Regions from separate parts of the Homo sapiens genome. Here regions 1, 2, 4, 5 and 6 are each linked to region 3. The links are contacts of gene promoters, found by promoter capture Hi-C in blood cells and fetal thymus (Javierre and others, 2016). All regions are on one chromosome and are shown on one strand. The core of a region is centred on a gene start or on the middle of the fragment in contact, and the rest is flanking DNA. Distances in the headings are between cores, read along the strand shown. Region 1 overlaps FYB1 (FYN binding protein 1). Region 2 overlaps FYB1 (FYN binding protein 1). Region 3 holds the start of PTGER4 (prostaglandin E receptor 4). Region 4 overlaps FYB1 (FYN binding protein 1). Region 5 holds the start of RICTOR (RPTOR independent companion of MTOR complex 2). Region 6 overlaps DAB2 (DAB adaptor protein 2).

Region 1 (3,988 bases), core at 882-3,381, 1.5 Mb before region 3:
AGATTTTTCTATAAAATCCTCTACTTTTTGAATGTTGGCAACTATTAAAACAAAAGAAATCAATCAAACAAAAAACTCTGCACACCCAACACAGCACATTTTTGGGCTACGTTCTTTTTTTGTTGTTGTTGTTGAGATGGAGTTTTGCCCTGTTGCCCAGGTTGGAGTGCAGTGATGTGATCTCAGCTGACTGCAACATCCACTTCCCAGGTTCAAGCGATTCTTCTGCCTCAGCCTCCTGAGTAGCTGGGATTATAGGTAACCACCACCACACCTGGCTAATTGTGTATTTTTAGTAGAGACAGGATTTCACCAGGCTGGTCTCGAACTCCTGACCTCACGTGAACTACCTGCTTCAGTCTCCCAAAGTGCTGGGATTACAGGTGTGAGCCACCATGACTGGCCTGTGCTACATTAATTTATGACATACACCCTTTTTAAGTAAAGAAAGAGAAAGCCTCGCAAAGAAATTTTAATAAAGGAAATTGCCTGACCAGTGTGGTTCATCCAGGAAGCAAGCTTTTCCTTGCTAAAACTATGAAGTTTTGAAAGGGACAAATTAGACCATTAGACCAGGCAAAGAATTGTAATGCACTGGAGAAAGAACTAGAATTGCCAACAAAGAAGGCAGAGCTTCCCTGTAGTGCCTGGACAGAGCAAGTGTTCTTAGCGTGACTCAAAGGGAGATAAAGTGACTATGACTCAGTAAACCTGTAAGAAGCACAACTACATATACAGACATGTGACAAGAGAAGGTACTCAGTTAAGTTAAATATTTGCTACTTTTGCTATGGCAATGACTATTGTTGCCATTGCTTACAAAAAATAATCATAAAATTCATATGGAAGCAAAAAGAGCCCTGAGTAGACAAAGCAATCCTAAACAAAAAGAACAAAGCTGGAGCCATCACATTACCTGTCTTCAAATTATACGACAAGGCTATAGCAACCAAAACGGCATGGCACTGGTATAAAAATAGACACATAGGTCAATGGAATGGAATAGAGAGCCCAGAAAGAAAGCCACATACCCACAGCCAACTGATCTTTGACAAAGTCGACAAAAATGTACACTGGGGAAATGATACTCTATTCAATAAATGGTGCTGGGAAAATTTGACTGCCATATGCATAAGAATGAAACTGGGCTCCTATCTCTCACCATACACAAGAAATTAATGCAAGATGGAGTAAAGATTTAAATGTAAGATCTGAAGCTATAAAAATACTAAAAGAAAACCTAGGAAAAACTTATGGTCATTAGCCTAGGCAAAAATTCATGGCTAAGACTTCAAAAGCAAATACAACAAAACCAAAAATAGACAAATGGGATTTAACTAAACTAGAAAGCTTCTGTCAGTAAAAGAAATAATCAACTGAATAAGCAGACAATCTGCAGATTGGGAGAAAACATTTGCAAGCTATGCATCCAACAAAGGACTCATATCCAGAATCTACAATCAACTCACAACCCCCAAAATAATTTCATTAAAAAGTGGGCAAAGGACATTGAACAGATATTTTTCAAAAGAAGACACACATGTGGCCAACAAGAATATGAAAAAGTGCTCCACATCACTAATCACCAGAGAATTGCAAATTAAAACCGCAATGAGATATCATCGTACAGCAGTCAGGATGGCTATTATTAAAAAATAAAATAATAAGAGATGTGGGCAAGGATGTCGAGTAAAGGGAATGCTTATACACCGTTGGTGGGAATGTATATAAATTAGTACAGCTTCTAGAGAAAACAGTATGGAAATTTCTCAAACAACTAAAAATGGAATTACTGTAAGATTCAGCAATCCTACTACTGGATATTCAACCAAAAGAAAAGAAATCGGCCAGGAGCAGTGGCTCATGCCTCTAATCCCAGCACTTTGGGAGGCTGAGGCAAGCAGATCACCTGAGGTCAGGAGTTCAAGACCAGCCTGACCAACATGGTGAAACCCCTTCTGTCCTAAAAATACAAAATTATCCGGGCCTGGTGGCAGGTGCCTGTAATCTCAGCTACTCGGGAGGCTGAGGCAGGAGAATAGCTTGAACCCAGGAGGTGGAGGTTGTGGTGAGCCAAGATTGTGCCGTTGTACTCCAGTCTGGGCAACAAGGTGAAACTCCGTCTCATAAAAAAAAAAAAAAAGAAATAAAGATATCATTTTACCAAAAAGACACCTGCACTTGTATGTTTATCACAGTACTATTCACAATAGCAAAGTCATAGAATCAACCTAAGTGTCCATCAATGGATGAAACTTATAAAATGGATGACACTGATAAAGAAAATGTGGTATACGTGGAATACTACTCAGCCATAAAAAAATAAAATTATGTCTTCTGCAGTAACATGGATGGAGGTAGAGGACATTATCTTAAATGAAATAATTGAGAAACAGAAAGTCAAAAAGCACCTGTTCTCACTTGTAAGTGGGAGTTAAATTAAATATAGACGCGGACATAGAGTGTGAAATAATAGACCCTGGAGACTGGGAAGGGTGGGAGGGTTGGCAAGAGTGAGGGATTGGAAATTAATTAATGGGTACAATGTACACTATTCTGGTGATGGTTATAATAAAAGCCCAGACTTCATTACTACACACGGTATCCATGAAAAAAAACCCCTGCACTTTATCCCTTAAATTTATATAAATAAAAAAAGAAAGGAGGGACCCTGAGTCAAAATATAGCACATAAACATAAGATGATAAATCAGGTTTTAGAGGAGAGAAAGATATATAAAGTTGGTGCAAAGGTAATTGCGGTTTTTGCCATTACTTTTGGTAAAAGCTGCAATTAACTTTGCACCAACCTAAAAGAAGAAAAGACACAGAAGGAAAAAAATATAAAAGCCACAAAGAAGTAGTGGGGCACAGTGGAGAGAGCGAGCGTTTTGAAATGAGATGATGCGGGGATCAAGCTTCTACTAGAGGTGTGATCTTGGGTAGTTCTCTCTCTCTCTCTGTCTCTCTCTCTCTCTCCCTTGTTTTTGTTTTTGTTTTAAGTTATTTTTTATTACACAAATAATACATGACTCATTTCTGGAAGAAGCTTTACAACACAGATAAAGTAGAGTTTCAGATGACCTCTCACTCCTCCTTGCCCTCTCTTTCCCAGAAACTACCATTGTTTATCTTTGCAGAACTTTTTCTAAGTGTTTACTGACCTTTGTATGTATGCACAGGAATATCTGATTAAAAACCTAAATTGCTCTGCATGCTGAATATTGTGCTGCCTATTCTGGGCCTATCTTGTTCTTTGTAAATGTTCCAGAGTATTCTGTGTTAGGGATAGTCCAGGTTTGTTCAGTCTTCCCCCTTGACTAAAAACAATGTAATGTTAAGCATCTACTTGTGCTTTTCTGTGTAACTGCAGGGCAGTGGTGGGGGGAAGTGTTCTAGGACAGAGATCTAAAAGTAGAATTGCTGAGATGAAAGATTTGCATATTTTATTTTCCTGTAGGATCTGCCAATTGTCCTCCAGTGAGGCTTCAGCAATGTGCCTCAATGAAGTCTTGTCTCCTCATACCCTCTCCGTCACTGGACGTTTGTAATCACTTTTTAATTTCATTAGCACAATCACTTAATCCTCCAGGGCATCAGCTTACTCTGTAAAAAGGCAAAAATTCTACTCCACAATAAAGTTATGACAATTATATTATTTAACAACAGTGCCCATCACAAACTCACAAAAGACACTTTATAAATGTTAATTCTCTTCCCTTATTATGGATATTTTAGTGAAAAAAAATTAGTCAAACTAGATGTGTCTCTGTGTAACTTTCTTACGGTGCTAATAAACCTTTGCAATTGGTAGCATGTGTTTAACTGCTGAGTAAGCCTATTTTTTTCAAAAACTTTTAGCCCACATTCATATTCCATTTTTAATTAAAGTGCCGTAATCAGGAATATTTCTCTTGAGTTTAGCATTGCTATATTATCATGTCATGTATTATAACTCAGTTTTCCCACTACATTTCTTCTTTCAATTA
Region 2 (4,307 bases), core at 997-3,496, 1.5 Mb before region 3:
TCATATAGTTACTAGTTTAAGTTCTCAGCTCACACACAAAACTTTTTAGCAGTTTCTTATTCTAATCCAAAATGTTTTCCACCTAACTCTAGAAATTGACCTCCTGTCCAAGAATCCCTTGTCATTGCAAGGGATGTGATAACATTTGTCCTACTTATGGTTGTGATCCTGGCAGATCTGAGATGAGCAAGGAAACAGAGCAAGGCATGGGGTTTATAGGGCTCAAGGCCAAAACATCCTGATTGACTTTGCAACATCGTGGGCAATCTGAAAGGGGAAACAACTAAGAGAAGACAAACAATTCCGTTTGTTTGAAAAAACATTTAGTCTCTGTGTGTGTGTTGGTGTGGGGGTGAGGTGTTTAGGTAGATGACTATATTAGGGCTTTTTTAGCCCAACCCTGGCTCCAAACAGCTGCCCCTTAGAGTTGGTTACATGAACCATCTAACTGGTAGTTTAGGGGCCCAGGACACCATTCTGGTTCATTCATTGTCTGCCTGAGATGGTGATTATCGTTCATTTGGCTGCAGCCTCAAACTTATTACCAGGGGTGGTTGAAGAGGGGCATAAACAGATACTACGGGAGAAAGAAGTTATAATTTGGGAAGTCCCATGGCAAAAATCAGATTGATAACAATGCATTTATATATAACAACTTCGTCTGAATGAAAAAGTGAAAAAAGTGTTAACATCTTTCGTTAGTTCAAAGAACAACAAAAAATGAAACACACCAAAACCCTTTCCTGTGTTATGCTTTTCTACATACTAAATGGTTTTCAAAAGAAAGTACCACAGAGAGAGTCATCTATTATTTCTAGACAGAATTTTCTTTTAGTTAAAAATGTAAACCAAAATGAGATACTACTTCACATCCATTTGAATGGCTATAATTTAAAAAAAGCAGAAAATAACGAGTGTTGGACAGGATTTGGGGAAATTGAATGCTTGTGCACTGCTGGTGGGAACATAAAATGGTACAGCTGCTATAGAAAACAGTATGGTGGTTATTCAAAAAATTAAGCATAGAATGACCAAATGATCCAACAATTCCACTTCTGGTGTATACCCAAAAGAACTGAAAGCAGGGACTTGAGCAGATATGGGTAGATCCCATGTTTATAGTAGCATAATTTACAATACCAAAAGGTGGAAGCAAACCAAGTGTCTGTTGACAGATAGAGGGATAAACAAAATGAGGTTTATAATACAATGGAATGTTATTCAGTCTTAAAAAGGAAGGAAATTCTGACATTCAAGGAGAAACCTTGAAGACATTACGCCAAGTGAAATAAGCCAGTCACGAAACAACAAGTATTGGCTGGGTGCTGTGGCTCATGCCTGTAATCCCAGCATTTTGGGATGCCAAGGCAGGCAGATCACTTGAGGTCAGGAGTTTGGGACCAGCCTGGCCAACATGGTGAAAACCCATCTCTACTAAAAATACAAAAATTAGCCAGGCATGATGGTGCAAGCCTGTAATCCCAGGTTACTTGGGAGGCTGAGGCAGGATAATCACCTGAACCTGGGAGGCGGAGGTTGCAGTGAGCCAAGATCGCACCACTGCACTCCAGTCTGGGCAACAGAGCGAGATTCTGTGTCAAAAAAAAAATATTGTGTGATTTCACTTATATGATGTACCTAGAGTAGTCAAATTCATAAAGGCAGAAAGTAGAATGGTGGTTGCCAGGGGCTGGAGGGAGGAGGGAACAGGCAATTAATGTTTAATGGATATAGAGTTACAGTTGGGAAAGAAGAAAACGTTCCTGAAATCAATAGTGGCAATGTTTGCGCAACAATGCGAATGTATGTAATGCCACATTTTACCCTTAAAAATGGTTAAAATGGCACATTTTATATTATGTATATTTTACCATAATTAAAAATTCAATAAGAATGTTAAAAAAGGTGTTTGAAGAATTATAAATTTAAATTAAATGTAACAGTGGATCAATGTCAAACATCTAATATGAATAAAATAATAAAAAATCCATTTGAGAAATATAAACACAACTCTCACTGACTACTTTTTTTTTGACTGATAGGGTAAATAAAAATATTTTGAGTGGTTTTCATTGCGATGACGATGGGGAAATGATGAGAAGCACATTGTGTGGTAGGATCACCCTGGGGGAAGTTTTTTTAAAGCAGCACTTGCTGTGTGGTCCAACCCACCCTGCTGTGCTCCTCTCAGGGATCTTTGGGGAGACTCACCAGCCCAGCCAGCCAGGGGTGCAAGGGGGAGGGTGTGGCATCCTGTGGTGTATTCAGAAGCAAACATTATTAAAAACCAGTGGAATCCTGGATCTGTCTTATCCTCACATTTTTCTTGATCAATTACTACCAAAAGAGTGGCAGAAATTCAGTGGCAAGGATTGGGGCACCTTTTGGTGGAGGTACCCTGATTTAGCACGAGTGAATGGGATTGGAATGCAGATGTTGGTTGCTTGTCTATAAATTATGCCCATGTATATGCCAAAAAGATACGCCCATGTATCAGAACCTGTGAATGTGACCTTATTTGGAAAAAAGGTCTTTGCAGGTGTAATTAAGGATCATGCAACGGAATCATTCTGGGTTATGTAGGTAGCACTACATCCAATGACAAGTGTCCTTATAAGATAGAGAAGAAGAGACAGCAGAAGAGGAGAGGGCCATTTTACAAGAGAGGTAGAGGTTTTAGTGATGCAACCACAAGCCATGGAATCCCTGGAACCACCAGAAGCTGGAAGAGGCCAGAAACGAATCCTCCCCTAGAGCCTCCAGAGGGAACATGGTTCTACTGACACCTTGAGTTTAGACTTCTGGCCTCCAAAACTGAGGGAGAATAGATTTCTGTTGTTGTAAGCTGCCTAGTTTGTGGTACTTTGTTACAGAAACCACAGGAAAATAATACACGCCCTTACAAAACTCCCAAATTAAACTTTTTTCGTGTGTGTGTATAATACGATTTTTAATATTGCATATATTTATATTAGCATATATTAGAAATCTCTAATATAAAAATAGTGGTATGCATGTTGTTAAAATTCTACCCGCAGCTCCCTCCTTTGTTCACTCTTTTGTTTATTTGTTTTTAAATTTTATTTTAAGTTCTTTCTGGGATACATGTGCGGGATGTGCAGGTTTGTTACACAGGTAAATGCATGCCATGGTGGCTTACTGCACCTCTCAACCCATCACCTAGGTATCAGGCCCCACATGCATTAGCTATTTATCATGATGCTCTCTCTCCCCCTGCCCTGCAACAGGCCCCAGTGTGTGTCGTTCCCCTCCCTGTGTTTGTGCTGGATTTCTATAAATATCCAACAGTCTATGTGGATGAAGTTTAGGAAGAAGGGAAGAAAGACTGTTTCATGATTATTTTTTGCTGCACCACCATTTGTTGCCATATTAGAGGTGACATCCCAGCTGGGATTATCCCTGGCTTGGAAAGACTGAGTTAGGCATTGGTCACAGGCAGCATGTGAATTTGGTGGCATTTCACCTGCACTTAGAAGCAAAGTCATCCACTGCTCTGACCAACTCACAAGGCGCAGGCTGCAGCAACGTGATTAACAAGGTTATGTATTGAATTTATATAGCTAAATGATTTTCCTGGTTTCTTATCTGTTTAGAGAGGCTGATTAGCAGAGGTAGAAAAACAAGACAACCACTGAGCTTTCCAAATTTATCAGAGAAACCCCAGACCAGCTTCTGATGGGGAAATATTCCTTGACTTCCAGAGCTTCCCACTGGATTTTCATTCCTGCCCAAAGACATTCTTGGTTTATTCCTAGTGACCAATAGAGAGCATTCCAACAATCACTTCTTATCAGTCAGCAACTATATAATAAACACCTGGGACATGCTTGGCCCTGGGCTTTGGTAAAAAGAAAGGAGACAAATGGGCCTTAAAGGTAGAACAATTTCAATTAGAAGCCTGTACAAGGTTTAGAACACAACGTTTGAGAAAGGAAAAAATCCTTAAACATTAGCGAACCAAGGTCCTTCATTTTACAAAAAAGAAACTGCGTAAGGGATCTGTCCAGGTTCACACAGTTGGGCTAAAATCTGGGTCTCTCCCTTGCTCATCCTCTGAGCTTTCCACTGCGCTATGCTGTCTGACCTGTGGGGTGCCAGCTTCTGCAGCAGCTTGCTCTTAAAAAACAGTCACAACAAGAACAGAGGGCAACCCCGATTGCCTTCTGGGCCAGGTGCTGTGCTAGGAGCTTTTCAGGGATCACCTCAAAACAGGTCAATGGAGACGTTACTGTTATCCCCATTTGACAGATAAAGAAACTGAGTCATGGAACCATTTAGGAACTCAC
Region 3 (4,299 bases), core at 1,102-3,601:
TGCGAGGGAGAATTTTTAAAGTGCTTAGAATAAAAATCTTTTCATTGAAAAAAAATGACAAGAATTGCCCACATAATTATGGCAATTTTTCCTTTCCTTTTGCAATGCAAATTCCTGGCAGAGTGTAAGAGAAACTGAGCTCCACTGTCCCAGTTTTTCAAACTAAGAAAATAAAATAATTTGCTACCTAAACTTTCAACTTCTACTTTTGAAAGCTAAATTTAAGTTTTAAGAATCGTACAACAAAAGAGACTACAGATAAACCTCATTACAATTTTTTAGTATTGAGCATTAGGTTATTTATTTTCCTTCTTCCTAAAGCTACTGTAGAAAGAAAATTCAAAGGACTAGTAAGAAAAATAGCTCAATTGATAACAAGTCTGGTTTGTCAATGACATGCTAATACCTGTAACAGTTACTAATTATCTCAGCAGTGTGTCTCAGTTTTTATATTTAATATATTCTTCATCATTCTTAAATTAATAAATAGCAACCAATTGTTTTCTCTTTTACAAGCTTCATATGGAAAGAAAATTGAAAAAAAAAATTTGTATTAGCAGAAAGTGAATATAAGGGACTTCCCAACCTCCCCTCCATATATTTACTGACAAGCAACTGACATGAGTGATAGCAAAGCAATGTGGTTAGTGAGGAATGGCGCAGAGTGTGCAGTTTCCTTTTTTCTAATGTTGATTTGTTTTCTGTGCTGACACAATCCTAGAGGTTACTGTTCAAAGGAAGCATCGACAACAGAAGTGATTAGAGTACTGATTAAAAGAAGATTTTTAAGAAAATGACCAATCACCATCAATCTTAATATTGGCTAACAAATGTGTATTTTTCTTTCTCATATTATTAAGTAAATAGTATAAACAGAATAATTCTTTATTAGTATATCCATATAGTGCCTTTTGCAAGTAAATATGATTCTGGATATTTTATGACCTGTAATTACTTGAAATCGGAAAGCCCTTTTAGTTTCTCTTATTACCCATGTGTTGCTGAGACTAACTGAAGAACCAGTTAGGAGGTTTGTTCGTTCACGAAATAACATTTAAGAAATGGGTACCTGCTTATCACATAAAAGAATCCAGTTATTTACTTACCCTGTGAGGAGACATAATATGTTAGAATGCTTGTACACTGCAGATGGGAAGAGGTTTTTCCAGGAATTTAAATTGTGCAATAAGGCCACACAATCTTACTTAAAAAAAATGGTGAAGGGGTTTTAATTACACCATGAAGTTTTACAATTTTTTAGGTTTTTAGTTCTGGTTTTAGAAAACAGAGTAGAAGGATTACAGAGAAAAACTTCACCATTAGACAAGAAGTCAAAATGATTCTAAGGGCCGCGCAAACAGGCTTTTCCAAGAATTAATCATGAGGTGGTGCTTGGAGAATTCCTTTACTCCAGTGACTTTGAAACCCCCTTCTCACTCTCCACTAGTCTTTCAAAGGATTCATGGTGAATTGGGTCTAACGAGTATAACACGGCCGGCCGAAGGCATGAAGCTCACGCTACCCTTTCAGGGCGGAGAAGTTCCCAGGAGGAAGAATGGAGAAAAAGATCGCAGTTAGGCAGTCCTCCCAACCTCACCAAGGCTCCACCTCTCTCCAAAGCCGCAAGGCTCTGCCACCTGCGCCGGGAGAGGCTGCAATCACTGTCTCCTCCTCTTTCTTTCTCTTTTTTTTTTTTCTTTTTTGCCTGGGGTGCCCGACCAAGCGCAGCCCGCAGTCTGGGCACTGCCAACTGACTCCAACTCCTTTTATGGTGAGAGGATGGATTCTTCGTTATTTCCCCGCCCAATCTGGTACCCACCCACCCACCCACCTACCACGTCCGCTGGGCGCACCCAAGTCTAACCCCGGGGCGCACGCGCTAGCGCAGACACCGTATTTCTTCTCCTTTCTCGGCCAACCCTAGGTAGAATCCTAAAACAACTGCCCTCTCTTCCACGATCTAGATGTTGCGGCCCGCGGACAGGAGGTTCAAGAAATAGTACACTCCGAGCGGCAGGCAGCGAGGCGGAAACGGTCGCCGGTTTCAGTGGTGGCCCCACTGGAAGCCGAGTTCAGGAGCGGCTAAGCGGTCGCCGGGGAAAGCACCGGGGCTTCCCAGGGTCCCCTCCGAGTTCCCACTCCGCACCTCCGAGGGCGTGAAAACCACGGGAGCCGCCCCACCCCGCGCGCCCAGCCCCGCCCCAGCCCAGACACCGCCCCCCGCCAGTCTTCCCTGCGGCGCCCAGGGAGGACGCGCTCCGCCCCCTTCCAATCCGGCCAATGGGCGCCCGGGCAGCGCGCGGTTTGCCTCCGCCTCCGCCAGGGAAACTTGGAGGAGGAGAAAAGTTTGTACAGAGGGTGGAAAGGCGAGAGCGGAGCTCCAAGCCCGGCAGCCCGAGAGGAAGATGAACAGCCCCAGGCCAGAGCCTCTGGCAGAGTGGACCCCGAGCCGCCCCCAGGTAGCCAGGAGCGGCCTCAGCGGCAGCCGCAAACTCCAGTAGCCGCCCGTGCTGCCCGTGGCTGGGGCGGAGGGCAGCCAGAGCTGGGGACCAAGGCTCCGCGCCACCTGCGCGCACAGCCTCACACCTGAACGCTGTCCTCCCGCAGACGAGACCGGCGGGCACTGCAAAGCTGGGACTCGTCTTTGAAGGAAAAAAAATAGCGAGTAAGAAATCCAGCACCATTCTTCACTGACCCATCCCGCTGCACCTCTTGTTTCCCAAGTTTTTGAAAGCTGGCAACTCTGACCTCGGTGTCCAAAAATCGACAGCCACTGAGACCGGCTTTGAGAAGCCGAAGATTTGGCAGTTTCCAGACTGAGCAGGACAAGGTGAAAGCAGGTTGGAGGCGGGTCCAGGACATCTGAGGGCTGACCCTGGGGGCTCGTGAGGCTGCCACCGCTGCTGCCGCTACAGGTGAGATGGCGTTGGGCTGACGTTGGGGTCAACGGGTAGAGAACGCAGGGATGCGGCCCTCGCCGAAGAGAGCCAAGAAGGGAAGAGCGCGCTCTCCAAATTGCTTTTGTAACTTGTTTTCAGTGAGCATTTTATTGATTCAGAATCTATCGAGAATAGCACTAGCGAGCTACTTTTCCCTTGAGATGGGTCTTATTCATCTTGGCAATGGAGTGAGTTGGATTGTGGGGAGGAAGAGGAATGGGAAAATCAGTTTATAAATATTAATGTCAGCAAGAGTGTGCTGTTGGCAGGACGTATCGCGAGCCTGGAGATTTTGGTGGCCGCAGTTGGTAAGTGGCTACAATCCAGAAAGTAGGATCGAGTTGCTCCCCTTGTCTTATCAGTGTATCGTTTCTCGGGCGCGGGTCTAACACCTTACAAGTGGTAATTTCCGCTCACGGCAGCTTTGTCTCTCTTCTACCATCCCCAGACCCAGCCTTGCACTCCAAGGCTGCGCACCGCCAGCCACTATCATGTCCACTCCCGGGGTCAATTCGTCCGCCTCCTTGAGCCCCGACCGGCTGAACAGCCCAGTGACCATCCCGGCGGTGATGTTCATCTTCGGGGTGGTGGGCAACCTGGTGGCCATCGTGGTGCTGTGCAAGTCGCGCAAGGAGCAGAAGGAGACGACCTTCTACACGCTGGTATGTGGGCTGGCTGTCACCGACCTGTTGGGCACTTTGTTGGTGAGCCCGGTGACCATCGCCACGTACATGAAGGGCCAATGGCCCGGGGGCCAGCCGCTGTGCGAGTACAGCACCTTCATTCTGCTCTTCTTCAGCCTGTCCGGCCTCAGCATCATCTGCGCCATGAGTGTCGAGCGCTACCTGGCCATCAACCATGCCTATTTCTACAGCCACTACGTGGACAAGCGATTGGCGGGCCTCACGCTCTTTGCAGTCTATGCGTCCAACGTGCTCTTTTGCGCGCTGCCCAACATGGGTCTCGGTAGCTCGCGGCTGCAGTACCCAGACACCTGGTGCTTCATCGACTGGACCACCAACGTGACGGCGCACGCCGCCTACTCCTACATGTACGCGGGCTTCAGCTCCTTCCTCATTCTCGCCACCGTCCTCTGCAACGTGCTTGTGTGCGGCGCGCTGCTCCGCATGCACCGCCAGTTCATGCGCCGCACCTCGCTGGGCACCGAGCAGCACCACGCGGCCGCGGCCGCCTCGGTTGCCTCCCGGGGCCACCCCGCTGCCTCCCCAGCCTTGCCGCGCCTCAGCGACTTTCGGCGCCGCCGGAGCTTCCGCCGCATCGCGGGCGCCGAGATCCAGATGGTCATCTTACTCATTGCCACCTCCCTGGTGGTGCTCATCTGCTCCATCCCGCTCGTGGT
Region 4 (4,127 bases), core at 753-3,252, 1.5 Mb before region 3:
ATCCAGGACTGGTTGTATGCAAGTCATCTTTAATTGCAACTAAAACCAAGCGTAATAGATACATTGGACCTGTTAGTATCTATCCCAAGGGTACTTGCCTCTTAGAGAAGCACTGGGTAGAGTGTCGAGCATAAAGGGAGAATGAATGTTGTCCCAAAAGTCTTGTAAGCTTCTACACAAGTGAACTGCCAAATGCTAGCTCTAGTATCACTTGAGGCAAGCCCAGCATCTACAGTGAGATGTTCTAGAATGATTCATACCAACTGCCTGGTTTACAGGAAGTTGTTTTCCTTGATATCTCTATTCTTCCATTCCTACTCTCTATGTGTCCCTAAAAAAATGAGTTTCTATAACAACTCAAAACAAGCTATTCTTGACTTTGTAAAAATCAAAAAGGCATTTGCCACTTAAAGATGGACTGATTTGGGTTAAAATGTTTCTATTGTCAGTATACATAAGAATCTCCTGGGCAAGTTATTAAAAATGGAGATACGTAGGCCTCAAAGCAAGATGTTCTGATTCAGGAAGGGGGCTATGGTGGTGGTGGAATAAGGGCAGGAATCTTCATTTTTAAAAAGCATCTAAGCTCATTCTGGTATAGATGATCCACAGGCCACATTGGGAGAAACACTGCCTTGAGGAATGATGGGTAAAAAGGAAATTTTATAATAGGTATCAGGTGAAATAATTTGAGATGATAAAAATTTATATGATCTACTGGCAAACCCAGTATTATATTACTATTTAGTAATTTAGAAGAAAAGGCAATTTTTGGTTTTCAGAAAGAAAGTAAATAATTAAAAATTAATTTTCTAGGGTAATTTTGTGATCTTATAAGAAAATGTGATTATATTATTCCCAAAAACTATCTAAAGCAGATTGTTGTCAAAGTTTTGAGGTAAATTATAATTCAACCAACTGATCAATGAAATCTGAAATATTTTGAAGTTCTGTTATTGAAATAGAAGAACAATATCTTAAGACAATAAAGAATTCAATTATTTAACAAAAAATAAGTTTTCTTCTATGAGGAGGTAGGTACACTTATCTTAATAAAATCAATAATGTTGTTTGACTTTATATGATTTCAAATTACTACAATGTGCAATTTTGAAAACAAAAGTTAAACGGGCTATTTTGGTGAGTTTGAACATGAAAATCCTAAACCACTGGGTAATACTCACAGACTACAAAAAGGTTAACTTTCTTGCCTTTTCAAGAAAATTTGCCAAGAATTCTCACATTGAATGGCTAGTTCATTTGAAGGAACAATTAATTTCATATTTGCAGAATATGCTATTGAATATGTTACTGCTATTGAAAACTGGACTTTAATATTCTTTGTTGAATCAAGATGCTGAAGTAACTTCCATCAGTTTGTTAGTGTTACTTAAAAAAAATCTCTTCAATAAATGTATACATTTCTTGATGATCCATCCTTTGCCCCCAAGTTCATTTTAATGTTGTAATAGAGATCACTTGTTGGATACAGGTTTTAAAACTAGTATGCTCTCAAAAGCAAGAGATGATGCACAACCTGTTCTAACTTAGTTATACAATTTTACAGAAATTATATGTATTTTATAATAAAATATTAATTCATTAATTATATGCCATGGACATCCTTCAGCATCAATATACATTCATTCTTTTCCCTAGATACAAAGTACTGTAAGTGAAAACAATTTTGACCCAGCTTTAGTTAACTTTAATTTTAGCTTATATGTTATTAGCGTTTATACTTTAATTTTGGAATCTAAGTTAAAATTCTCTTCAGATTTTCTAAGTCCTATGGATAGGGAAGAGTACTCATTAGATCAAGTAAACACTGCTTTCTCCTTGACCTATTTCAAGAATTGAGAAGCCCAGATAAATAATTAACTTCTTTAGGATGGTTGTCTTATTCTTACCATGTGCACACTCTTCATTGTTATCATAAATACACTGTCAATACCTGAGGATGATTGAATTTTTCACTCTTCTTTGCATTGTATAAACCTAAGCCTTAGGTGATTCTTTTAAGATAACCCATTATTTTTCTGATATTGATGCTTTGTAGCAGTTAAATGTCTTACCAATGTTTTCCCCCTTAGATATGTGATTAAAAGTTCCCAGTCAAGATGGTAGGCTGAGCTTCATGTGGCAGCAAGCTCTGCTCACCCTAAATCTCTAGAAAGGATAGAAAAGATAACTGACTAAAAAAAAAATATATATATATATATGATATATATGATATGATTGTGTGTGTGTATATATATACATATATACATATATATACATATATATACACATATATATATATACACACATATATATATATATACACACACACACATAATCACACTGGAAGTAAGAAAAAAAAGCAAACCCACAGTGTGTTAGAAACCATGAGGAATCCCTAAAAGATTTGAAGAGAGATCAGATCAACGAGGTAATAAAAGCCCAAAGAGAGCATGAGAGAGAGCTATAAAAGTTGGAGCCACTCCGTGAGGGTTCCGCACTCAGAGATGGAGAATATTGGGAGCAGGTAGGGGCCCATGGGTGACTACTTGAGGGTATGAAGCAGGGACAGCCGGGCACTTTTGACTTCTACACAACAGAAATACTGAGAACTACGAGTGAGCCCTTGAGTGGGCGAAGCTGAGCAGAGTCCCGCTGGCTGCCTTGTCCAGGAGGAAAGAGGAGCACCTGGATTGAAGACTGGCTGTCAAAGTGCCCCATGTCCGGGCACACTAACCCCACCCCTCTCTTCCCTCAAGCGGGCTGCACAAACAGAAACGGTGGACAATTGAATTCAAGCTCCACTAAAACATGAACACAAAATCAAGAATTTTCAAACATTGAAAAGGCAACACACACACTTTGGGAGGCGAAGGCGGGAGGATCACCAGGTCAAGAGATCGAGACCATCTTGGCCAACATGGTGAAACCCCGTCTCTACTAAAAATACAAAAATTAGCTGGGCGTGGTGGCACATGCCTGTAATCCCAGCTACTCAGGAGGCTGAGGCAGGAGAATCACTTGAACCTGGGAAGCAGAGGTTGCAGTGAGCCAATATAGTGCCGCTGCACTCCAGCCTGGCGACAGAGTGAGACTCCATCTCAAAAACAAAACAAAACAAAAAAGGCAACACTGAGAGAACAGCACTCTGAAGTCAACAAAGAGTAGAACTTATACCTAAGGAAACAGAGTAATACAGCAAGAGAGGCACAGGAAGAGACTGCATCTACAAGAGGATCAAGTTGATGTGATAATGAAAATCTTTATGTTATGTTTAAGCAAAACAAAATGTGATTTAACACCTGCAACAATTGGATGCTTTTTTTTTTTTTTTTTTTTTTTTTTACTATTATTGATCCCTGAGGCAGCAGCTGATAGCTATCATCTATTATTCATCTATTTCCATTGGGTCTTTATTTGAGTTTTTTCTCCTTTTATCCTTTAAAAATATTAATTAAATTGCTGCCAATTATTGTCTTTCTTTATGATGTACTAGGAACTGTGCTACGTGTTTTTACTACATTTCCTTTTAATCCTAACAATAATTCTATGACATAGTAGACTTATTATCCCCATTAGCAGATGAGAAAACTGAGGCTAAAAGAGGCCGAGAACCCTCCTTGGGGTCCTACAGTAATTGGTACAGCTGGTACTGGAACCCAAGTCTTTCTAATAACAAAGCAACTGCTCTTAACTCATGATAAAAAAAATGATTGTGAAAACTCCTACATTCTTCAAAACAAAAAAGTGGTCCTGTCTTCATAATACACCTCACTTCTCACAGATCGTTAAGTGCTCATTGCGCTTTTTGCAGGTTCTCCTATCAACTTCAAAGCAAGCTTAAAAAAAGCTTTCAGCTTACAAAAATACTGTGACACGCTTGAAAAAAATGTTTTTATCAGTGCCACATTCATCCTCTTCTTTTATCATTAGGCTCACAAACACAGGAGTCTGTCTACAGCATGAAAACTTGAGAGTGTTTTTCTTCAACTTGCTTATCTTTGAAGATCCAACGATAAAGCATTATAAAAGAAAGGCACCTTGATTTTAGGACAACTGCCTAGCTTGCTTTTGCATTGGTCTAATTTCTTGTAAGTACCGTATAAGCCTATTTTGAAGACTAGGTA
Region 5 (3,903 bases), core at 1,261-3,760, 1.6 Mb before region 3:
TGTAATCTAATCCACAAACAGCTGCCCTTCAGCTGCAACCCAAACTGCCTCACAGTTCTCAAATTATTACTAAACTTTAATTCCTCATGAATTTTCTTCAAGCCTTCTTTGAACAATGAAATGTCTGTCACAACAGCAACTTTTTAAAACAATAGTATCACTATAAAATGACTGATTCAGATTAATTCCAAACTTCCTTATGATTTAGAAATACAGATCTCAAACAATCCCTCACTCTTTATTTTTGCAATCAGTTTTAAATGGCTGTGTATACTTTATTCCAAACTGAAGTACATTTTGTCAGGGCAAGCCGAAAACAGCATTTTCTGCACTATCTATATTAACCTGGAAATACCTATGGACATAGGTGCTTACTAAATTCTCAGTTAATATGGCATTTTAAATAGTAAACAGTTACCTGTGTGCCTCAGTAAAACTGGAGTAAGCCAAAATTATCAAATCAGATGTGTACCTAAGCTCTTCCACAACTCAACATTTTTGACACCAAGCAGAGAAACCACTATATATAGGAGCTCGACGAACTCAATTTAAAATACAACTATATATTTCCAGCACCACATCTGAGCAGGTTTTTAATGCACAAGTTAAACTCAAGTTTATTAAGGGCTCCCTTCACCTTCATCTAAAACACATATGCCTGTATATAAATTAAATCACTCACTAATTACATCTTTTACAGACCTGAAATTGTAGAAGTTATCCTTGTTAGGAAGTTTTCTAGTGAATCTATTTTATATAGATTTTTCACATGTGTGTTATAGTCAAGTTTCCAAACAGTTGCACAGAAGTCAAAAGCTTTACATCTTTCTATACTAATTCTCAAAACCGATCTGCTGAAAAAAATGGTGGAAATTAGTGCATTGATAATCTAATTAGTAGCCATTTTCAGGATTTAAGCTCTACTATATTGTATTATATTTTAGAAACTGTCTTGTAAAAGGACCTAGTTCACCCAAAACTAAGTCCCTGAACTTTCAGAATAAAATATTAAGTTATAAAAATGTACTCTTGTAGCTAAGTGAAAGCTGACCATTCAGTTTATAAAACAGTAATCTTACATCGTGATAAGCAAAATAAAACAAATTAGAAAATGCACTATGCTTTCACTCTAGCCGTTGTCAACAAGGAGCCCAGCTTTAACAAATTACTGTAGATAACAGTCATTACGTCAGGTACGACATAGGGTAAAAAACTGATCTCATACAGAATGTCTACAACAAGTTTTTTTGTTTACTTCCTAAGGTGTTTTATAGACCTCAGAAACTGATTCTGTACAGCTGAACCGGGTTACACTCCAAGCTACAGCCCGTGTGAAATATGACTTCGTCGGAATCAGTAGGCTCAATCCTGTTTACCGTGGAAGAGAAAAGAATCTTGTACGTAACTACTAAATCTTCAACGAGATAATGTCGAATAAACTCTAGTACTGTAAGTGATAGAGGAAACACTGGCTAGTAACGGGATTAGGTCATTAAAAATATCACCCGAGTTTCCCCAGTTCGGAAGGTGTAAACAAACCCATCTCCACTGCAGAAGGTAAACAATGAACCTGCAGCAGGGTGAGGGGGCGGTCTTTAGCCAACTACAGTCCCAGCGGCCCGGGAAAGGGAAGCAGAAGGGAAACAGCATAAACCAGACATTTAGCAGTAATGACCAGTTCTAGGTTTCACTACCAAGTTATCAATGCTGCGGGTCCCCACAGGACGGTGGGCAAAGGGGAAAGCAGTCACGCAGTCGGCAAGCACCGAGCAGGTCCGGCTTCTGCTCCGGGGACGGGGAGGGCAGGATGTGGTCGCTCTTCCCTCAAACATCCTCCTGCAACCTAAATAACAGCCTCTACCTCCCTCCAGCTGCCCCTAGCTTGGGCTGCCGGACTCCGGGATAGGTGCAAACCACTCTGCCGGAGCTCGAGCCCAGAGGGTCGCCGGGTCTGCCGAGTTCCACTCGGGGCTCCCCCGCACCCGCAGCAGCCCGAGGCCCGGAGAAGGGCTCGGGCGAGGGAAGCGGGCGCTGGGTAGGGGGATGGGTCCGGCGAGGCGGCCCCGGGCTCGGTTCCCGCGGGCCGGCAGGCGGGGCTCCGGCTCTGGCCCCCGCACCCCGCCGGTCCCGTGCGGGGCCCGCCCCTGCCTCTGGCCCCCAGCCCCGGACCCGGCTCCTCCCCAGCAGCGCGCCCTCGCGGCGCCCGCGGCGCCCCGCGTTACCTCGGGTCAGATCCAGCGGGACGTTCTCCTCGCCGCTGTCATTCCGCCCTGCGCGAAACAGACACACAGCCCCAATTAGGATTGGCTCGCAGGCCAGCTGCGGCTGCCCTGGCTCCGGCCAGCGCCCCGGCTCGCTCCCCAACCCAGGGCCAGGGGAAGGCAAGTGCCAGGGGTGGCGGGCGCCGGGCGGTGGGGAGTGAGGGTTGCAGCGGGCTTACCTCGTACTCGGAGGTTCTTCAGAGAGCGGCCGCGGCCGATCGCCGCCATATTGACGGGTTTCAGTCACAACACCGGAAACCTCGCCCAATCGCGCGAGAACCCCTTCCCCTCCCCGCGCGCCGCGCCCGCCCCCCGCGGCACCTCCCCCGCCCCCTCGGCGGCGACGGCGGCGGGTGGTGCAGGCTCGGCCCCAGCGCTGAGGGAGCACTGAGCCGACCCAAGGTCTGCAAGGAGTTCGCGGCACCCGCCCGCCCACGCCGGACCCGGAGGGCACGTCCGCCGGGAGGGGCAGTTCCCACGAGGAAAGTCCCATTGATGCGAGTTGGCAGTGTAGAGGATGCTCCCCTCCGGCCGCCGCGGAAGCCGTCGTCCAAATGCAGGCGAGCGGGGAGGAGGAGGCCGGGATGCGGCCGGCGGGCCACCTGCTCTCGCCGGCCTGCCAGTCTCCTGCTTGCTCTGAAGCCCTGCCATAGACGGCCCCGCTCCCCCGTGTATCCACTGAAACATTTTTTTATAAAAACGCTGCGCACAGTTTTAGACTCCTTTCCTGGAATCGCTTTGCTCCAACTAAGTTAACACGTAACAAAGTTTGTTTTCCAGCCTCGCCCTTGATCTTCAGAATGCCCCTCTCGGCTAGGAGGGCTTCTCCAAGTGGAAGTGGTTAGGCAGTTTTGTTTTTGGCCGCCAGGCGTAGGACGCGAGAAGGGGGTGCAGCGGCCGGGGACCAGGGCGGCGGTCCCCGCGGTGGGATCGCGCCAGCGCCGGGAGGCCGGGGAGAGGGTGTTCTCTGCCGGGAGCCGAGGCGAGGCTGCTGGGTACTGTGTCCGGCTTTTATGGCTCTGCAGCTCCTAGGATCGTGGCTCATGCAGGTGTTGTGGATTAATCTATTTTATGCATAAGCCTATTAACATTAGGGATTTTAATTCTAGAAACTGCTTAGTTAATACGTATGTGTACACACACACACACACACACACACACACACACACACACACACACACACACACACACACACACACACACCTGGCCACTGACCCAGCAGCTTTCTCTTGAACTACATTTACTTTAAAGAGAGGAGCGATTTGTCCTCTCCAGTTCCTCAGCTCATCTTTCTATTCCATGAGACTGAAAGTTAATTAAAAGTGGAGATCTAGCCTTAACCAGTTCTGTTTTCCCAGCTCCCAGTTAATGCAATATCTGGCACAAATAAGTATTCAATAAATATCTGTTGGATGAGTAAGTGCCCTGGATTTCTAATTTATTCCAATTCTCTGCTTACTTTAAAAAAGAAAAAAAAAGCAATATTGGGGATATTTGTTGAAGTTGTTAATAAGAGTGAACATTTGGAAACACTTAAATGACCAAAGGTAGGGATTATGTAAATTATGTCAACGATTAAAAGTGAAGAGGTAGACTTAGTAATAGGAAATAATGTTCATGATATTAAATCAAGCAAAATATT
Region 6 (4,147 bases), core at 1,494-3,993, 1.3 Mb before region 3:
ATCTCTAGAATTTAGCTTGCCTGATACTCAAAAACAATGAGAACAAGACCATTTAAAAAATATCAGCTTAGTTATTGCATTGAGAATTGCATTTCTAGGACAGGTAAATTTCAGAAGCAGCCGCAGGAGTTCTGAAGAGTTTTTAATTTTAAAATCGAGGCAACTCATTTTCCTGATGGAGAAATGAAGCTCAGGCCTTATATAGCTTGTCTTACATGGCAAAGCTAGGCTGTGGGCACAGTCATTTGCAGCTTAGAACCCAAGCTCTTAACCATGAATCTATGTTGGCTTTTCAAAATCAGAGTTCCAATTATATACTTGTACATCACACCCTTGTATTTTTCAGTTTGAGATGTGATCTCTGTTTGACATCAGGCATTCTTAGGACTGTTTTTGCAAGGTAAGTGAGACAACTAAGGGCCAGAGACATTGAATAGCATGCCCAAGAAATGGTAGCACTGCCATTCACATGTAAGTCTGTTTAACTCTCTATCCTATGTCCTTTGCCACACATGAGGAAGACTTTTGTTTTGATTTCTGCTCACTGGGAGATTTTCCATTGCTAACCTAGCATCAGACTTCACATAGTAGGTAATTGCTAAGTATTCAGATAAACGCCAAGGTGCAAATCATAAAGATTCATAATTGAATCCTGGCTCTACCACTTAATGATAACACCTTGGGCAAGATACTCATCATATTGGAGCCAATAAATAGAGATATCTTTTCTATTTCAAGTTACTTAAAGTGAAAGTCGAATGGGAGAAAGGAGCAGTGCTTCGTTAGCCATTAAACTTTACAAAAACTAAATGAAGTAGACTCATTTATGGAGAGGACTTCATCTGCACTTCTAGACATGGCATAAAAACAAAATAAAAAGTTTTATAGGTTAGAGAAAACCATCTGGTTCAAGGGTAATGATCTAGTTTACTGGAATCCTTTTTAAAAGAAGTAAGTGGGACAGTCTCCTAATAAATGAAGATTAATTATACTCTTTAAAAACCCCAGCAGAGGGGAAAAGATTTGGAAGTGAGGTGATAATATCAAACCAAAAGTATATTGGATTTCCTAGGATCAAGAAAGTCATACTTGGTATATGGGAAAAATATCCAAATCCCATGCTTTTTAATCTTTCTGCATCCTAAGATTCAGTTAAACTGCACTGTGTTTAAAGGCTTTTGCTTTATTATCTCCATGACTGAAGGAATTCAAATACTTTGTTATGATTTCCACTGAAGAAGTGAATCCTAAAACCACTGAATTATGAAAGTTACTCTTGGATCACGTGGTGGAGAGCTAGTTTAGATACAGCTGGATGGGCCCTACTTCCAGAGTTTGCAGTTCTGACAGGTCCCCAGCTGATGTTGATGCTGCTGGTTTGGGAATCAGCTCTGAGAACTATTGTCTTAGATGAGTTCCCTCAAGCTGTGAAATACACATCAAGCTAAATGTCCAATTTTGAAAGACTGAATTAATTTGTCAAATGCAAACTTGTGTATGGCAGCTCATCTTTCATATAAAGATCAAAGTCTTTTTGGGACTAACATTTTGCATCATATTGCTAGGTAGCAATAGGGTAGTTTTTTACCAAGAGACAACATTAAACCATATTTCCCTCATCCAGATTTCTTCTAGGTTGAAAGGTGCTTCAAATCCAGCATTCTAGGATTGTTACTTCCTATTTACCTGCTCCCTTTACTCTATGGTTACCTGAAAATCTAAGTGACAGCCCTCATACATTGTTTACCTTCAACGTAACACTCACTCAGCCTGCCCCATTCACTTAGAATTTTTACCAGTTGACTTAGTTAAAAATCACTTGCCCCTAGCTAGCTAGTACAAATGTAGTAGGGAAAACTTGCCAGGCTGCTTCTATATTGAGGTAGTAACTTTTAGGTTCCAGAAATTTCATAAGCTTTCATGTTTTGCTATCTAGATGATGCAAGAACTAGGAAGGTTAGAAAATTAAGTATTGGGATTAAAATAAGTTTGGAGGGGGTGATATAAGTAGAGAGGAGATTCTACTTCACTTAGTAACTTCCATTTTTAGACCAGGAAGCAATTTGTTCAGATTCTACTTCCCCTAGAGAGGCAGGCTTCCTTCCAGGGTAGAAGGATGCGGGAAGGGGAGTAACCATGGCAACCTGCCCAGCTATGTGGGCAAGGATAGTATGGGGCCTGCACACACTCGGAAGAATTTTTATTTCTAGCCTAGTCATTCAGTTTAATCCGGGTGGTCCCTCCCTTCCCACTTCCTTCTGTGACAATGCTGACTTCAGGGGGAAGGATTGCTCCTTCTCTGTCAGGAGTCTGAGAGGGTGTGGGGAGGACTTAATTGAGACCAGCGAGGTCAGCCTGACCAAACCAAAGTGCAGGCTTCCAGGACGAAAACAGAGAGTAACTCCCTGTCTGTTCTAGCATGAGCACAAGCAAACGCACTGGCTTTATTAAAATCAAGTGCTTGAATAATTAACCTTTTTCAAGTAGGTGAAGGGTATTCAATTTTCATGAAGAAATTTTCCATTTGCTTTCAGTTTTCACAAAGACACTTAATTCAGTTGTTCAGGGGGGAGTAATAACAAACAAACAAAACCTTCAAAATCAGATGGGAAAAAGTATTCCAAGTATATTAGATTAGCTGTCTTCCCAGCAATCCTGGGGTAGGTACTATTATTCTCCCCAGATAAGCAAGCTGAAGTACAGAGAGGTTATGGAATGTGCCCAAGGCCATGTAACCTGCAACCCTGTAGCTAAGATTTGAACCCAGGAAATGGTACTTCAGAAGGTAGTTCTCAACTACTATCCAATTGTGCCCTGTTGGAGGCAGCCAGTGTTGAATGTTAGCCCTCTGTGTCCGTACCAGTCATCATTTGTTCCCCTAACCAGGAATTTGCTTGTTTTCTGTCTTTAAGTAAAGACTGAGGAGTCTGCTTTCCTTCTGATTTCCACCAGTTAATCCAGTCAGGATATGCTGATATTATGAGTTGGGTCTCCTTTAAAGACACATATCTGGTGTTAAATCTGATTCATCTGGCCGGGTGTGGTGGGCTCATGCCTGTAATTCCAGCACTTTGGGAGGCCGAGGTGGGTGGATCACTTGAGGTCAGGAGTTCGAGACCAGCCTGGCCAACATGGTGAAACCCCGTCTCTACTACTACTACAAAAAAAAAAAAAAAATATTATCCAGGTATGGTGGCGGGTACCTCTAATCCCAACTAATCAGGAGACTGAGGTCACAGAATCTCTTGAACCCAGGAGGCAGAGGCTGCAGTGGGTCAAGTTCATGCCAGTGTACTCCAGCATGGGCAACAGAGGGAGACTCTGTCTCAAACAAAACAAAACAAAACAAAACAAAAATCTGTTTCACCTAAATATGATTTTGGCCAACCTTTGTGCAATTCAGCGGCACAGCTTCAACTTTGGAATTACATAGCAGTGCCAGGGAGAATTTTAAAATACCACATCCTGTTACTCAGGTGTTTCATATTGCCAATCTGGTTCCCATTCTGGTTCTGTCTAAAGGGTAAAAAACCTTATGTGTTTGGTTAGTTACCTAAACCTTCCTGGCCAGTAAGCTTTCGAATCTTTCCAGCTGGGGAGGTATGTTCTGATGAGCATTAGGACAACTTCAAACCCCAGGAGGGCTCACTCTCAGCAGCTTTCCCAAGCATTTCAGCATCTTGGCTTTGTCTTTAAGAAGAGCAATAATTAAATCCTCAGGTCAAAAGAATGAGGAAGAGAAACACGCAGAGCCTTCAAAATTATCCAGATGAAATATCAGTGGTAGCAAACTTAGGTTTATGGACATATGAGGGTAGAGTTAGAAATGAAGCAGCATAAGAGCCTATGTCACAGCAAAGCCTCCTGCTTGGCCAGGAGCACTCAGCAAGGAAGATATCTTCCTGCTCCCTTAACCTTCAGATAATCGAGGCCTGGTTGAGCAGGCCAGTAAATATCATCCCCAAACAGCTGGTCAGCAGCTGCCAGAGGTCCCTGTACTACCTTCATGCCAACAAGTGCCTTAAAAGCCGTACCCTTCAACCCAAACAAGGCCAGTGAAATCCATTCAACCTTTGGAGAAAGACAACAAACAGGCCTAATGCACAGGAATTTGGACTTCCAGTTTAATCTGAAACTATAAAAGTCT

The links. The method cuts DNA at HindIII sites, captures the fragments that hold promoters and counts their contacts. A CHiCAGO score of 5 or more calls a contact.
Region 1: a contact is called between a fragment that was not itself captured here and the fragment with the promoter of PTGER4 in region 3, in 1 of 17 cell types (fetal thymus). The highest score is 6.2, in fetal thymus.
Region 2: a fragment that was not itself captured here is called in contact with the fragment with the promoter of PTGER4 in region 3 in 2 of 17 cell types (non-activated CD4 T cells and fetal thymus); the score reaches 5.8 in non-activated CD4 T cells.
Region 4: a fragment that was not itself captured here is called in contact with the fragment with the promoter of PTGER4 in region 3 in 2 of 17 cell types (non-activated CD4 T cells and fetal thymus); the score reaches 7.7 in non-activated CD4 T cells.
Region 5: a contact is called between the fragment with the promoter of RICTOR here and the fragment with the promoter of PTGER4 in region 3, in 7 of 17 cell types (fetal thymus, total CD8 T cells, naive CD8 T cells and 4 more). The highest score is 9.9, in fetal thymus.
Region 6: a fragment that was not itself captured here is called in contact with the fragment with the promoter of PTGER4 in region 3 in 1 of 17 cell types (M0 macrophages); the score reaches 6.2 in M0 macrophages.

The regions. Positions count from the first base shown.
Region 1 is chr5:39,164,310-39,168,297 of GRCh38, forward strand. The region is part of intron 2 of FYB1 (FYN binding protein 1); the gene reads right to left. Among named protein-coding and RNA genes, the nearest start is that of FYB1, 53 kb to the right of the region's middle. The HindIII fragment of the contact is 1,567 bases long and covers 1,349-2,915 here.
Region 2 is chr5:39,213,330-39,217,636 of GRCh38, forward strand. The region is part of intron 1 of FYB1 (FYN binding protein 1); the gene reads right to left. Among named protein-coding and RNA genes, the nearest start is that of FYB1, 4.1 kb to the right of the region's middle. The HindIII fragment of the contact is 4,693 bases long and covers 1-4,307 here.
Region 3 is chr5:40,677,564-40,681,862 of GRCh38, forward strand. PTGER4 (prostaglandin E receptor 4) reads left to right here and starts at 2,352. Exons shown (of 3, transcript NM_000958.3): 1 at 2,352-2,915; 2 at 3,388-4,297. The coding sequence starts at 3,431. RefSeq lists a silencer at 2,015-2,234 and an enhancer at 3,370-3,897. The HindIII fragment of the contact is 6,362 bases long and covers 515-4,299 here.
Region 4 is chr5:39,183,320-39,187,446 of GRCh38, forward strand. All of the region lies in intron 2 of FYB1 (FYN binding protein 1), which reads right to left. Among named protein-coding and RNA genes, the nearest start is that of FYB1, 34 kb to the right of the region's middle. The HindIII fragment of the contact is 3,670 bases long and covers 168-3,837 here.
Region 5 is chr5:39,071,889-39,075,791 of GRCh38, forward strand. It overlaps RICTOR (RPTOR independent companion of MTOR complex 2), which reads right to left and starts at 2,511. Exons shown (of 38, transcript NM_152756.5): 1 at 2,441-2,511; 2 at 2,223-2,270. The coding sequence starts at 2,489. RefSeq lists enhancers at 1,344-1,870, 2,397-2,923 and a silencer at 1,809-2,708. The HindIII fragment of the contact is 5,742 bases long and covers 815-3,903 here.
Region 6 is chr5:39,418,742-39,422,888 of GRCh38, forward strand. All of the region lies in intron 1 of DAB2 (DAB adaptor protein 2), which reads right to left. Among named protein-coding and RNA genes, the nearest start is that of DAB2, 4.2 kb to the right of the region's middle. The HindIII fragment of the contact is 1,660 bases long and covers 1,914-3,573 here.